Regions from separate parts of the Homo sapiens genome. Here region 2 is linked to region 1. Evidence: promoter capture Hi-C in 16 types of primary human blood cells and fetal thymus (Javierre and others, 2016). All regions are on one chromosome and are shown on one strand. The core of a region is centred on a gene start or on the middle of the fragment in contact, and the rest is flanking DNA. Distances in the headings are between cores, read along the strand shown. Region 1 holds the start of PBX1-AS1 (PBX1 antisense RNA 1). Region 2 has its middle 48 kb from the start of PBX1.

The links. Contacts are between HindIII fragments. The CHiCAGO score rates a contact against its expected background, and 5 or more counts as called.
Region 2: a fragment that was not itself captured here is called in contact with the fragment with the promoter of PBX1-AS1 in region 1 in 1 of 17 cell types (megakaryocytes); the score reaches 5.4 in megakaryocytes.

The regions. Positions count from the first base shown.
Region 1 is chr1:164,772,039-164,779,054 of GRCh38, reverse strand. PBX1-AS1 (PBX1 antisense RNA 1) reads left to right here and starts at 4,414. Exons shown (of 4, transcript NR_038072.1): 1 at 4,414-4,626. All of the region lies in intron 2 of PBX1 (PBX homeobox 1), which reads right to left. The HindIII fragment of the contact is 2,806 bases long and covers 2,021-4,826 here.
Region 2 is chr1:164,507,819-164,514,834 of GRCh38, reverse strand. No RefSeq gene overlaps it. Among named protein-coding and RNA genes, the nearest start is that of PBX1, 48 kb to the left of the region's middle. The HindIII fragment of the contact is 196 bases long and covers 3,674-3,869 here.

The DNA of each region.
Region 1 (7,016 bases), core at 3,165-5,664:
AAAAAAAAAAAATTATCTCCTTTGCTTTTATTCTCACATGAACGTTATGGGGTATTATTAACCCTTTTTTAGTCAGATGAGGAAACTGAGGTACTGGGAGTCAAAGTGGCCCAAGGGCACATACTTAGTTCTGCAGTTGACTTCACTCAGGGTGTTCTCCCTACCTCACAGCTGCCTCCAATTGTAGCAAGGTTGATAGCAAGCAAAGGCGGTGCCCTGAAGAAAGAATAGGGTTGAACCCCAAGTAGCAGCTGGCAGAGTTTCACGGGATGAAGGCCAATGTGGACTTTCATGCTGCCTTTTGCAGAATTTCATTTCTGTTTTCCTGAACTAGCCTAAACCAAGAAAAACTACTAACGACACACATGTAGTTTTCTCAGCTTCACACTCTTAACCTGTTCTTCTTTTTTTTTTTTTTGAGAAAGGGTCTCACTCTGTTGTCCAGGCTGGAGTGCAGTGGTGCAATCACAGCTCATTGCAGCCTCGACCTCCCACGTCCAAGCAATCCTCCCACATCAGCCTCCCAAGTAGCTGGGACTACAGGCACACACTACCACGCCCGGCTACTTTTTCTGTAGAGATAGGGCCTCCCTATTTTGCCCAGGCTGGTCTTGACATCCTGAGCTCAAGTGATCCTCCTGTCTTGGCCTCCCAAAGTGTTGGGATTACAGGTGTGAGCCACTGCACCTGGTCTATTATGTCTTAAAGCAAACCAAACAGACATGGTATTTGTTTCTACACCACACCATCAAAAATTACAGTTGTGCAAACACTTTTTTTTAATGCTGAATTTGACTTCACTTTTTGGGACAGGAGATATGGAAGTGAAACAAAAGTTACCCAGTTTTTGATCTGTTTGGTAATGAATAGCACTGAGTTGCTGTTGTAAGACCTTGGTCTTAATGTTCAGCATCACCCAGCAGGAGATATCCTCCAGTTCCAGGCTCTGTTCCCAATTTGCCAACCAGAATTATGGGGCCACCTCCCTACCTTCATATGTAACCAAAATAACAGGTGGGCTCAGAAAAACTGAGAGGAAAGGCATTTTGAAGGTTTCCAATGAAAGAAGCATCTAACACTTGTATCAAGGTTGTCAAAGGTATATATAATGTATACTTCTTTTTCCTGCAAAAAACCAGAAGGTTATGGAGTCATTTCAGCCTAAAGTAAACTAGCTAATTTTAAGATTCTGCAAACCAATGTGAATTATGTTCACATAGTTCTCTTTCCTCTTCTAGAGGGAATCCCAGGGAACTGACGTTGGTATAGACTAAGAGATTTCTGCTTTAGGTAAACATTCAAACAATGCTGCTGATTGCAAAACTGAGGACAGGATGGCAACAACAGGTTGGAGATCAGACAGGTAGTTATCCAGCCTTTAAGTGACAGGGATGTAAATAATTATGAACAGAATAAAAAGCAGAGATTTTCTTAATTCCGCCCTCCTTTGTTTGCTACTACTGTAGTCCTGTGACAGTGGCAGGACCCTAGACTTTTGAAATACCATAGTCAGTGATTACATCCTGTGAGAAAATGCTCAGAGTTTAGCTTTATGGTCAGAGTCTCTGGAATGCAGCCTTGCTGTTCATCTCTCGACCCTTAAAACCTCCTGAGATTTTGTTGTTGTTGTTTGAGGCAGGGTCTCACTCTGTAGCCCAGGGTGGAGTGCAGTGGCCAGATCTTGGCTCACTGCAGCCTCCGCCTCCCGGGTTCAAGCGATTCTCCCACCTCAGCCTCCCAGGTGGCTGTGACTACAGGTGCGTGCCACCATGCCTGGCTAGTTTTTGTATTTTTAGTACAGACGGAGTTTTGCCATATTGGCCAGGCTGGTCTTGAACTCCTGGCCTCAACTGATCCTCCCAAAGTGCTGGGATTACAGGCATGAGCCACCATGCCCAGTCCCTCCTGAGATTATTTCAAAGATGCTAAGGTGAATTTCAAGGTGTGGTTTTCCGAAACTATTATTCTGTTGACGGCCAAGCATTTATTCAGTTCATATGTAGGGAGAAGAAAAAAAGCTTCCATTACTTGTACCTCCATCTTCTGGATGGCAGCCCCCCGCCCCCCCACACCTCCTCTCTCTCTCTCTCTCTCTCTCTCTCTCTCTCTCTCCTCCCACCACACACACACACACACACACACACACACACACACAAATGTAAAACCACAAGATTTACTGCAGAGATTCAATATTAAATTTTAGCCCAGCCATACATACAATGACAAGCCATATGTACAATGACAAGTATACTAAGCTCACAGATTCATTAACCTCTTGAAATTAAAGAAGGGAAAGTTAATCATTGCACAGAAAAGAAATCTTTTATTGCTCAAGTTAGGCTTAAAACTTTGCACTTCTGTGTTTCCTTTTGGATATGTTCTAAGACTAGAAATTAAAGTCACTAGGAAAAGAAATCCCCCTTGGGGCACAATTCATCCATTTGGAGAATATGCTGATCTTTAAGGGACAAGTATTTCCCTAGAAAAGGCAAAGGGAAGAGAACACTTTAGATGAAAAACAAAGAGGACTCAAAAAGGAAAAAGAGGGGTGGGAATGGCAAAAGAAAAGAGGGAGATAACACTCAAGATATTTGTGGATCAAGAGGTATTATGTGGCCCAGATGTCTCAGCAGTGAGGACATAGCACAGCACCCCTTCCTTCTAAATCACATGCCACAGCCGCCCAGTACCCCTTCCAGAGCAGCTTTTCTGTTCTGCCTTTAGCTGGCCATGCCCTTTACACCTAAGGAACACCCATGTTTCTGGGGATGCGGATTCTCTGCTTCCTAGAAAGAAAGGCAAGAAAGGTACCTGGGAAGGAACCCACGTACAATGAGCTATGATAAATACCTAACAATTTATACCGCGCATTCAATCTAGGATAGGCTGCCTCTTCACTGAAATCTATTAATTATTCATACACTAAATCAAAGACCCATTCCTTGATTGGTTACTATGGGCCAGACAGGTAACGGTCACAGAAATGAAAGACAAAGTGCCTGCCCTAAAGGAAATGATAGTGTCATAGAGAAAAGCTGACAAACCGATTATTAGTATACAGAGATGTGGAGGAAGTTTACTCAACAAATGGCCTCAATTGTGATATCATCACAATTAAGCCTTTTGACATTCATCCTTATTTCCTTACTCCAGTGTAGACTGCCACATATTCAAATATACAAACAGACCCCAATGTATGCCCATGCAGCAGGTGACAAGGGCCAGGTGCTTGTGTTTACCTGTACTTGTTTCAGCACTCACCCCATCCTTACACCATTAAACCGAATAGCCATTTGTAGGGCTTAAACACTTAAAAGCCAGTATTAAGCAGAACCTCAGCTCTGCATCTGGGGACAAAATACCCCGCAAAAGGGATGGGAATCCTGAGAGTGCAGCCAGCATAAATCACGCCAACATCACTGGGCAGACGGTTATAACAAAATGCACTTCCTCCTCCATGAAGAGCAAGGGCTTCGTAGACTGCACCCAAGCCACAAGCTCCACACCAGACCAGAGATGGGCTGGTAGGCAGAGGCAAAGGTGGTTTCAAGGCTTCTGTGGCTTTGAAGAAAACATCTTTGAGTGTGAGAAAGCATTCACATGGTCTCTGCGGGCATCCTTTCCCTGTGGTCGGGCACTCTTCAATCTGTGGCTGTTGATTTCACCACACACTCAACTTGTCCCGCCATAGTCCTCCCTAACGTAGCCCTAAAGACAAAAAGACCACTAAGATCGCCTTGCAAACCTAATCAGAATGTGGCAAGTCTGGGGCAGTGATCTTTCACTCTATGATCTTTGACAGTGGGTCCTAGGGGCAAAAGTCTCAGACTCTTAAAATCTTATCTGGCTCCTTCCGTTAACAGAGAAAAGTAAATATTTAGCCACCAGCACAGAGGTTGAGAGAAAAACAGCTGTAATCAACACTCCACTTCTCACCCCTCCCAGATCAGAGGTGAAGCCTGACACCCCTGACCCCTAAGCGAGCTTCCTCGGTGTAGCGAAGCACAGAGCCCAGCCAGCAATAATTCCACATATAAACAACTCTTGCTAGGCATGAAGCACACACCAGACAGTAATCAGCTTATCTAACAGAACAGGCCTCTTTTCCGAACGCAGAGGAGGATTAGCAGGCTTGAATTACAGCCGTGAAGTGTAATCAAGCCCTGGTGGACCCTGGCAAAGGCTACTGTATATTCCTGCTGGGCCATGGGTTGTTGGCACGATGTGGTGTACCTACAGGGGACGAACAGAAAATGCTTGAGATGGTAATTACACTGGGAGACAGCAGTTGAGAAATGGGGAAGAGCAAGTGTGGAGGGGAGAGAAATCAGATTCCAGCTGATGCCCACGTCCTCCACATCTTCCAGTCTTTGGAAAATCTTGAAGTTACTGGATTTGAACAGATTTTTCTGGCTTATTAAAAATAGAATATTGCCTACATCACATAAAGGGCAAACTCCGCCCTCACTTGGTCACAGAAGCAATTACAGCATTGTCTGTAGTACACAGCCCACGGCCTCTAACCACAGTGATGGGCACACTTGGTGATGTGCAACTCAGTGGGGCCTACAGGGTCCCAGCTGACATAGACATCACAAAGGAATTTGAACCAGGACTCAGAAATAGGTAGACAATTTTAAGAATTGTATCCTCACCTTGAAGATGCTAAAACCAACCAGATGGGGGTTTCCTTTTATACCTCCCAGATGGAGACTTCTCATTTCGAAAACTTGAGAGTCCAGCATTTAATGATATGCCTACAAAAAAGTCTCTACTTAGTGAATTCCATGAAAAAAGGCACTATGACTTTTGAATTTTTTGAAGCTTCCCAAAGAACCCTGTGCCTTGCTGAAAAAGAAAATTGTCTTATGTTAGGTTTATTTTTTTTTTATTCTGTCATTTATTTGTGAAGAACTTTCCTTAACATCCTATTCATAGCACCCCACTATGTAAAACAATTCAACAACTCATTAGCTTTCCCTTAAAGTAATCTTAGCCCCCTCTGAAGTTCCTCATCTATCTTGCCATCTATCCTTTTCTCTTACTCATATTTCTTAAAGATCAAAGAATTCAAAGTGGATATCACGTTAAAAAATTGCCTTCACTAACATGGGGAGTCGTAGAAAAATAGCTTCCTGGCTTTCTTAAGTTCTGGGCCTCTTGAGGCAGATCCACTGCGTTAACACTGCAAACACGCTTCCTTCTCTTCAGTCAAATCTCTCCCCAGCTAACTCTTCTAATACCAGCTTTCCAATGCCTTCCCAACACCCAATCCTTTCCAGTACACTTGGAGAGAGCAGAGACTCCAGGTGACATCATGAATCCCCTCTAGAGATGATCCATGGGTGAAGAGAGAGTCATGGCCCATGCAGTGTGGGGTACGGTTGAGGGCTCTGAAATGTGCCACAGGCCGCTCGTCCTACCAGTCCCAACCTATTCCTCACTAGCTTATCCCTTAAGACACATGTCCCCAAAACCACTCTCCACATTTAATCACAGCATAGAAGCCTGAAAGCAGTGATCTTTCACGCCATAGTCTTTGACAGGGAACTCTTAAGGCCAAAACTGCCAGACTCTCAAACAACTGATAAGTGCATAAACCTAATTTTCAAAACAATTTAATTGACTACAGTCTGATTGCTGGTACACATGAAGATATACCGTGTGTCAGCAGTGTTTGAAATAGGAATGCTGAGCTGAGTGTGAGTGGGTCACTCAATTCAGTCTATCAGGTTACGATCTGACAGTGGAAGGCAAGAGACAGCATATCAAGAAAAACTCTGTGTGTGTGTGTGTGTGTGTGTGTGTGTGCGCGTGTTACCTATATGCAAGAGCTGGAAAATAGAAAAGAGCTCTGATGAGTGACATGGAGCTGAAGATCCTTTGCGAGAACTTTAAATTCATTCCAAAATGCAACCAAAATAATTACAGTATTCAAAATTGTGCCACCAGTACAGAGGGCTGAGAACAACTGCTCTTAGTGGGACAAAGCCACAAAATGCAAGAAGGAACCAAAATCTACCAAGAATTACCTTGGAGATGAGTTAAGCTGATCTGGCCTTATGATAGTTCTGATAGCCAAGGAACAGGTCAGGGCTGGAGCCCAGAACTGGATATGGTCATATCTGAGAAATCAGACACTCAAGAGTAGGAGTCACCTCTCTGGGTCTGAGTCAGCAGGCACCTCCCGCCTCTGACAGGCCTAACCACTTATCATGAGCCAGGCATGCACTCAGGGTAGCCTAAATGCTAAGTACTGCCAGCAATGCTCAGACTCTTAGCCAGCCGTGGAGGTCTTCTCTGGGGCCACCCAACTATCCTTTCAGACCTCATTCTGATATCTCTGCCTGAAAAAGCACGCGGGGCAGCAATAGTCCCCAATCACTGTCCCTTTTAAGGTGTAAGGAGGACAGGGCAGGGGAGTGGGCTGTCCTAGTCCCTTTCAGGGGCTATACTCCAAGCCACAAGTCTGGTTTCTATTACAATTTTCCAAATTGATATGTGATCCTGGTGACAACAGTCACTCTCTGCACTGGAGTGTGTTAGCACCATCTGTAAAATGGGCCACTTGCCTTTCTTTTTCCAGACCAGTTGTGAGTTTTATAAACATACTCGTGGCAAAGCCCTCTCAAATTTATTTTCCTATGTGATATCTGATATGGCCCCATCAAACAAGCACACTTTTAGAGTGGCTTGTCAGAGTTGGTAAACGGTGTTGCACCTTTGGCTAGGATTTAAAATGCCTGAAAGGGGTTTAAACCACATGTTCTTTTAAAGATAGAGAAAATTTCACTGCTGTACCCCAAGATCTAACGGCAAAGAATTTTGGTGTAGTAAATCTGCTATATGTTATGCACTGTGATGGAAAGTATTTCATAATTACAAGGTGTTGTTGCTACAGGAATCTTTCTTTTGCATTTCCTGTCTGTAGCTAAAATGGATTTTGCAGCAGATCTTTGGATAAAAGCTATCAGGTGCTTTCCTGAGAAAGGATGAACAGACAAAGGACAGCTGGA
Region 2 (7,016 bases), core at 2,522-5,021, 260 kb after region 1:
GCAAGCGGATCTCAAAGGTTTCTGGACAGGGAAGAACCAGCAGAATGCTTTTCTCCCCGTAGTCCATTGAGTTTTCTTTAGTTTTCCAGAGGGCTTAATACCTTCTTTTGTTTTAGGTTATGATGATAACCTACTCACAATGCAAGGTAATTTGTTCTTCAGTGGGGATTATTTTTGGTCAACTACGTCAAGTCTGGTTGAGGAAATTATCATGGTTCCACATTATGAGGAAGAAGTTGCAAGGGACCACTTTTTTGGTGAAAAGAGGACCAAAAAACATAGATCCTCTACATATTACCAGATAAATGTCCAAAAGGAGTTTCCAAAATGTTTGCTTAAAAAATGCCATTTGGTACAAAAAATTAGCCAGGCGTGGTTGTGGGCACCTGTAATCCCAGCTACTCGGGAGGCTGAGGTGGGAGAATTGCTTGAACCCGGGAAGCAGAGGTTGCAGTGAGCCATGATCCCGCCACTGCACTCCAGCCTGGGTGACAGTGAGGGGCTTTGTCTCAAAAAAAAAAAAAAATGCCATTTGGCTGAGTGTGGTGGCTCATGCCTGTAATCCCCGCACTTTAGGAGGCTGAGGTAGAACAGCCACTTGAGTCCAGGAGTTTGAGACCAGCCTGGGCAACACAGAAAGACCCTGTCTCTACAATTTTTTTTTTAAAGTTAAGTGGGCATGGTAGTCTGTGCCTACAGACTGCTTGAGAGGCTGAGGCAGGAGGATCACTGGAGCCCAGAAGTTTGAGGTTACAGTGAACTATGATAGAGCCACTGCATTCCAGTGTGGGCAACAGAGCAAGATCCTGTCTTTAAAAAAATTAAAAAAAATATTACCGAGGTGTGGTAGTGCACACCTGTAGTCACAGCTACTGGGGAGGCTGAGGCAGGAGGATTGCTTAAGCCCAGGAGTTCAAGGTTTCAGTGAGCCATGAATGTGCCACTGCACTCCAGTCTGGGTGGCAGAGGGAGACCTTGTTTCTTTAAAAATAAATAAATAAATAAATAAATAAATAGCCGAGCATGGTGGCTCACACCTGTAATCCAGCACTTCAGGAGGCTGAGGCAGGAGGATGGCTTGAGTCCAGGAGTTCAAAACCAGCCTGGGCAACATGGTGAAACCCCATCTCTATGAAAAACGATGACAATTAGTCAAGCATGGTGGCAGGCACCTGTAGTCCAGCTACTTGAGAGGCTGAGGCAGGAGGATCACCTGAGCCCAGGACGGTTGAGGCTGCCATGATCATGAGTGAGCTGTGATCACGCCACTACACTCTAGACTGGGTGACAGAGTGAGACCCTGTCTCAGTAATAATGATAATAAATAAATAAATAAAAATAATACAATAAAATATTCCATTACTAAAAAATCAAAACAACAACAGAAAGAATGTCAAAGTATATCACTGGATAGCCATCACATTTAATAGTTTAGGCTGGGCACAGTCACTTACACCTGTTATCGCAGCACTTTGGGAGGCTGAGGTGAGTGGATTGCTTGAGCTCAAGAGTTCAAGACCAGCCTGGGAAATAAAGTGAGACCACGTCTCTATAAAAATTACAAAAATTAGCCAGGTGTGGTGGCTGTGGTCCCAGCTTCTAGGGAGGCTGAGGTGGGAGGATGGCTTGAGCTTGGGAGGAAGAGGTTGCAGTGAGCTGAGATCAAGCCACTGCACTTTGGCCTGGGCAACAGAGCCAGGCCCTGTCTCAAAAAAAACAAAACCAAAAAAAAAAAAAAAAAATTAAAGGTGTAGCCAAGGAGTATTTATGGTCATGTGACACTTTAGCACCAGAAAGGTCCCCCCCACCCAGGAAAGATCCACACAGGATATATTATCTGTCAGCTTCTAAAGGAACTTATGATTTTTTTTGGCATAACTGGTAATAACAGCCATACAGTTTCAGGCAGTCACTGAAACATAGCAAAACACCAAAGCAACAATTAAGAAGGAAAAGACACAGCATGTTTACAATATCTGAATTTAAAAGTGCTCTTTTCTTGGTGGTCTCTGGACTTCCTCCTACTTCCCTGAAGTTTCAGGGGAGAGAAGTAGCCAACCCTTAACATGGCATAAAAAAAAGCTCACTTGTGTAAGTTCGCTCAGTAACTGGAAGAAGGATGAATCTGCTTGGATTGATGGGCAAACGGATCTTGTTCTCAGGAAAGGAGGCAGAACTGACATTAGATATAGATAGTATCCCTCTAGGTTTTTCCTGTGTATGCCAGTTCTAATCTTCTTTCTTTAGGAACTTAGTATAGCACACTTGGTTAAGGTCATAGTGTAACATATTTGTTTTGCATTTTGTTTTCATTCACTCATTCCATGAAATTTATTGAGCGCCTACTAAATGCACAGTGCCATGTGCATAGGCGTTTATTTAATTACATCTTGCATCATTTGGCAGATTGATTCCATAATCACAGATTAGTTGGCTGGGATTCTGATTCTAATTTTGCCCACAATTTGCCGTGTGGCTGTGAGTTAGGCACCCTACCTCTGTGAGATACCTCAATTTCTTTCTCTGCATGGTGGAAATTAGAGTAACTGACAGCTGCTTAGAGATGTGTTGGAATGATTCATGTTCAAGTCAAGGTAAGGCTTGCGAAGTTCAATGATTTCATCCTCAAAAATGCCACTTTGAGATTCATGGAAGTAAAGATTCGTTTGTTTTTTTTTTAAATTTATATTGCAATAGTTACAAGTTTCTCGACTATTTTATTTATTTCTTTGTTACTGTTTTCTGATTTAATGACTGCTAGCTGGATTCCAGGGTTTCAATATCAAAGCCATTAACCTGGATCGATTGGCCAAACTTGAGGTCTTCTCTGAGAGATTTTCCGTGGCAATGTAGAGGTAAGAATTTGTATATGCCCAAAAGGTGGATGAGCACAAATTTGAGTAAGATTTGTAAGGAAACTGAATTTGAGCCTGAGCTTGAATTTGGCTTCCCAGCTTCAGTACTTGTTATGTAGTATCAGGATCATTTTATTTTTATTTGTGTAGTAGTTAACTTGCTTTGTTCTGATAGCAAACAACTGCCTCTTAATCTCAGACATCACCTTTACTCATGTACTGTGAACTGGCAAGAAATACACTAATGTATTTACCATGAAATTGGCAAATATCACCCCTAAAGGTACCTATATCTTCATGATTTCAAAATAGCCAGTTTTTTTTTTTAAGTTATTAGGTATGATAAATGTCTAACTCTCAACACCTCTGGGGCTGAGCCTGGACGGGGCAGGGCTGAGGCATGTCAGTAAAACCTTAGGTGGCTGTGAGAGAAGTCAGAGTGGGGAAGTCTTGAGGCTAATCTAGAAGTCAGTTATCTTGAGGTCACAAAGACCCCAGATCACAGGGGAAGAGACAGACTGTAAGCTTGAAGATGATAACTTGTGAAAGCCGGAAATCCTAAGCCACTTTAGCAATTCCTTTTCCTCACCATGGGACTTTCTCCAAGCCTCAGCTATGGACAGTGGTCAAATGCAAAGAATTATTGCGAGGAAGAGAATTTTCATAATTGTTGTATAGAAAAGTCGGTCTTTCACAAAACTGCTTGGCCCTCCAGCTGGGACTTGTTCAGAACCATCCCTGAAAGTCATTTGATCTGCCTTGAAGATTCAGCTGGTCATGGTTGTGGCTGTGGCATTTACCAAGCTGAGGATTAAGCTTCCCCATTATGTCAGGGCCCAGAGGGGATATATTTATTCCTTTGTTTGGCTCATTCTGATGGTGAGTTGCTATACTGAGTGAGGGTCAGCCTTTTTTGGGGGTAAGCTAATGGGCTGTGTGGCAGCAGAGCGCATTCTGGGGCCTCACAGAAGACTGCAGAGGGGAAGGTGAGAGGAAGGAGGTGCATTTGAAGCTTTGGCCACGGAGGACTTTTTAGTTCACAGTAAGTATTTTGAATGTTTTTCTTGTCATTTGGAACCCATTAGAGGGTTTAATTAGGGGAGCAATGTGACACAGAGTGGGTAGATGTGGAAGAGAGACCAGTTTGGCAGATGTTGCACTAATATCTGGAAGGAATATAGCAGTTTGCATCAGATGCTAACAATGGAGATGGTGAGAAGTAGCTACATCTGGGATATAGTTTGAAGTTTGAGTCAATCATATTTACCAATGGATTAAATGTAGTGGATGTGTGCTGGGGGGAAGAGGACATTAAGAATGACTTTAAGGGTTTTGGTTTGAGTACTCACGCCATCTACTGATGGGGAAAGTGTTGGAAGGAGCATGTTTGGAGGAGGAGGGAAGCCAAGAGTTTAGTTTGGGACCTATTAAGTTGCAGAAGGTCATTTACATATTCAAGTAGAGATGTCAAGTGGGCAAGCAGATAAATAAGTCTATTGAGCAGAGGAGCATTTGGAGCTCTATATATGAATATGGGAAGTATAAACACATAGATGATTTAGGCCTATCGTACTAGGTGAGACTACTTTGGCATGATTACAGCAAGAAGAGAAGAGGCCTGAGGAGTGAGGCTAAAGGCCTGAAGCCTATTAACCATTAGGACTCAGGAAGAGGAGGAGGAGGTAGGAAAAGAGACTGAAAAAGTAGTCTGTGATGTAAGAAGCAAAGCAGAAAATATGGGGTGGTAGAAACTAAGTGAAAAAATTTTTTCATAAAACATGATATGCTGACCTATGTCCATTGCTACTGATAGGTAAAATAAAGTGAGGCTGGGAATTGACCAATGGATTTGAAACATGGAGGCCAATGGAGATCTGTGAGGGTTAATTTTATGTGTCAACTTGACTGGCTTAAGGGCTACCCAGACGGCTGGTACAGCATTATTTCTCAATGTGTCTGTGAGGTTGTTTCCAGAAGAGACTGGCACTTGAAACAGTGAACTAAGTAAGGAAGACCCGCTCTCACCCAGTGTGGGTGGACACTGTATAATGCGCTGAAGGCCCAGATAGAACAAAAAGACAGAGGAAAGGCAAATTCTTTTCTGGAACTGGGACACACTTTTTCTCCTCCCCTTTCATATCGGAACTCCAGATTCTTTGGTCTTTGGACTGTGGGACATGCACCAGTGGCCCTCCAGGTTCTCAGGCCTTCAGTCTCAGTCTGAGAGTCACACCATTAGCTCCCCTGGTTCTGAGACCTCTGGGTATGGATTGAGCCATGATACCAGCTCACCTGTTCTCCGGCTTGCAGATGACCTATCATGGGACATCTCAGCCTTCTTAATTGCATGAGCCAATTCCCCTAATAAATCCCCTTTCGTCTATTTCTCTCCCTCTCTCTCTCCATATCCTATTGGTTTCTCTGGAGAACCCTGCCTAATAGAGATTTTGGTATCAGGAGTGGTTCTAGGGGAACAGAATTTTAAGGATGAGTTTCCTCGACTGGGTTTGAGGTTTCTGGAATTGGCTCTCCAATATGACTAGACTTAAGAATTTTAAGGATCTATTTCCAATAGTACAGAGACATTGATAGTTCATGGTGTGAATTGTTTGTACACAATCTGCATTGGGTACTCTTAATCACTTATAAAAGGCAAGGAACTTAGTGACCTTGGATATGATATTTCCAATCATTCATAGAAAACTAAGGAATATAGTGATATTGGTTGGTTGCTCCTAATGTAGCTGGATAAAGTGATGAATGAAAAGAATGTACTCAGGGATTCAAATTTCTGGATCCAGCTCCATGTGAATAACCTCTGAGACCTTCCCTGTGTGCCCTAAAGGAGAATCTTCTATCCTGTAGCCACAGGGCTGAAATTGCTGAAAATGAAACACAAGTCCTCATCATGTGATTGGTTGAGTTACAACGACAGGTGAATTATCAGCCTTGAATGGTGTCTACTGGTAAAGTGACAGCATTGGTTGGGAAAGATCCTATAAATGGGATGAGGATACTGAGAAGACCCTAATAAAGCTGGGGATATTCACCTCTTAAATTCAGATGAAGCTGGGCATGGTGGCTCACATCTGTAATCTTAGCACTTTGGGAGGCCGGGGTGGGCCAATCGCTTGAGCCCAGAAGTTCGAGACCAGCCTGGGCAACATGGCAAAACCCCATTTCTATAAGAAATACAAAAATTAGCCAGGCATGGTGGTATGTGGCTTGCAGTCCCCACTACTCAGGAGACTGAGGTGGGAGAATCACCTGAGCTTGGGAAGCTGAGGCTGCAGTGAGCTGAGATCGCACCACTACATTTCAGCCTGGGTGACAGGGTGAGATCCTGTCTCAAAAAAAATAAAATTAAGTTAAAAAAAAATCAGATAAGTCCTTTTTGCCAGTAAAGTGGCCTCCCTACCCACAATGGAAGTGGCCCCCTCAGAGGTATTGGTCTTTTCCCCACTGTCTGAGGGGAATAATCCTGCATCACCTGAGAAAACAATAATGGCCTTCCCTGAGGCAGCCGCCAACAAGACACCATGATGCTTCTCAGGACTCGCTCCCACCACCCCCCCGTTTTTGTTTTTTTTTTTTGGTTCTGGACCTATAACTCGACTTGAATCCTATCAAGCCCCTAAAGGTGAGCTACAAAGTGGGTCGCATAAGGAAGTATGCTACAGTCCCAAAGACCTTGAGTTTCTAACTTATGCCAGCAGAAATTCATGACATACGGGGAATGAATCTTAAAGGTGTGGGATAAGGGAAGGAATATAAAGCTGGATCAGGCCAAACATCTTAAGATGGCCAATTAAGCAGAGATTCTATATTTAATGTCACAGCTCAGGGAGGTAGAAGGGGCTCTAACACTTTGTTTGGTTGGCTGGCTGAAACATGGATCAAAAGATGGCCCACCATGAATTCATTTTGCTGGAAAACCCTATTACAGTAACCTTCACAAGAACAGTTTCTATAGAGTGGATTCAAGAGGTGATGGGGGATGAGGAAGTGGAGACAGAATGATGGACAATTCTTTTGAAGAGTTTTGTTGTAAAGGGGACAGAAGATTCTCTTTTAGGGCACACAGGGAAGGTCTCAGAGGTAATTTACATGGAGCTGGAGCCAGAAGAGAGGAAAGTTAGTAGAAGGAGGTAGGTATATGAT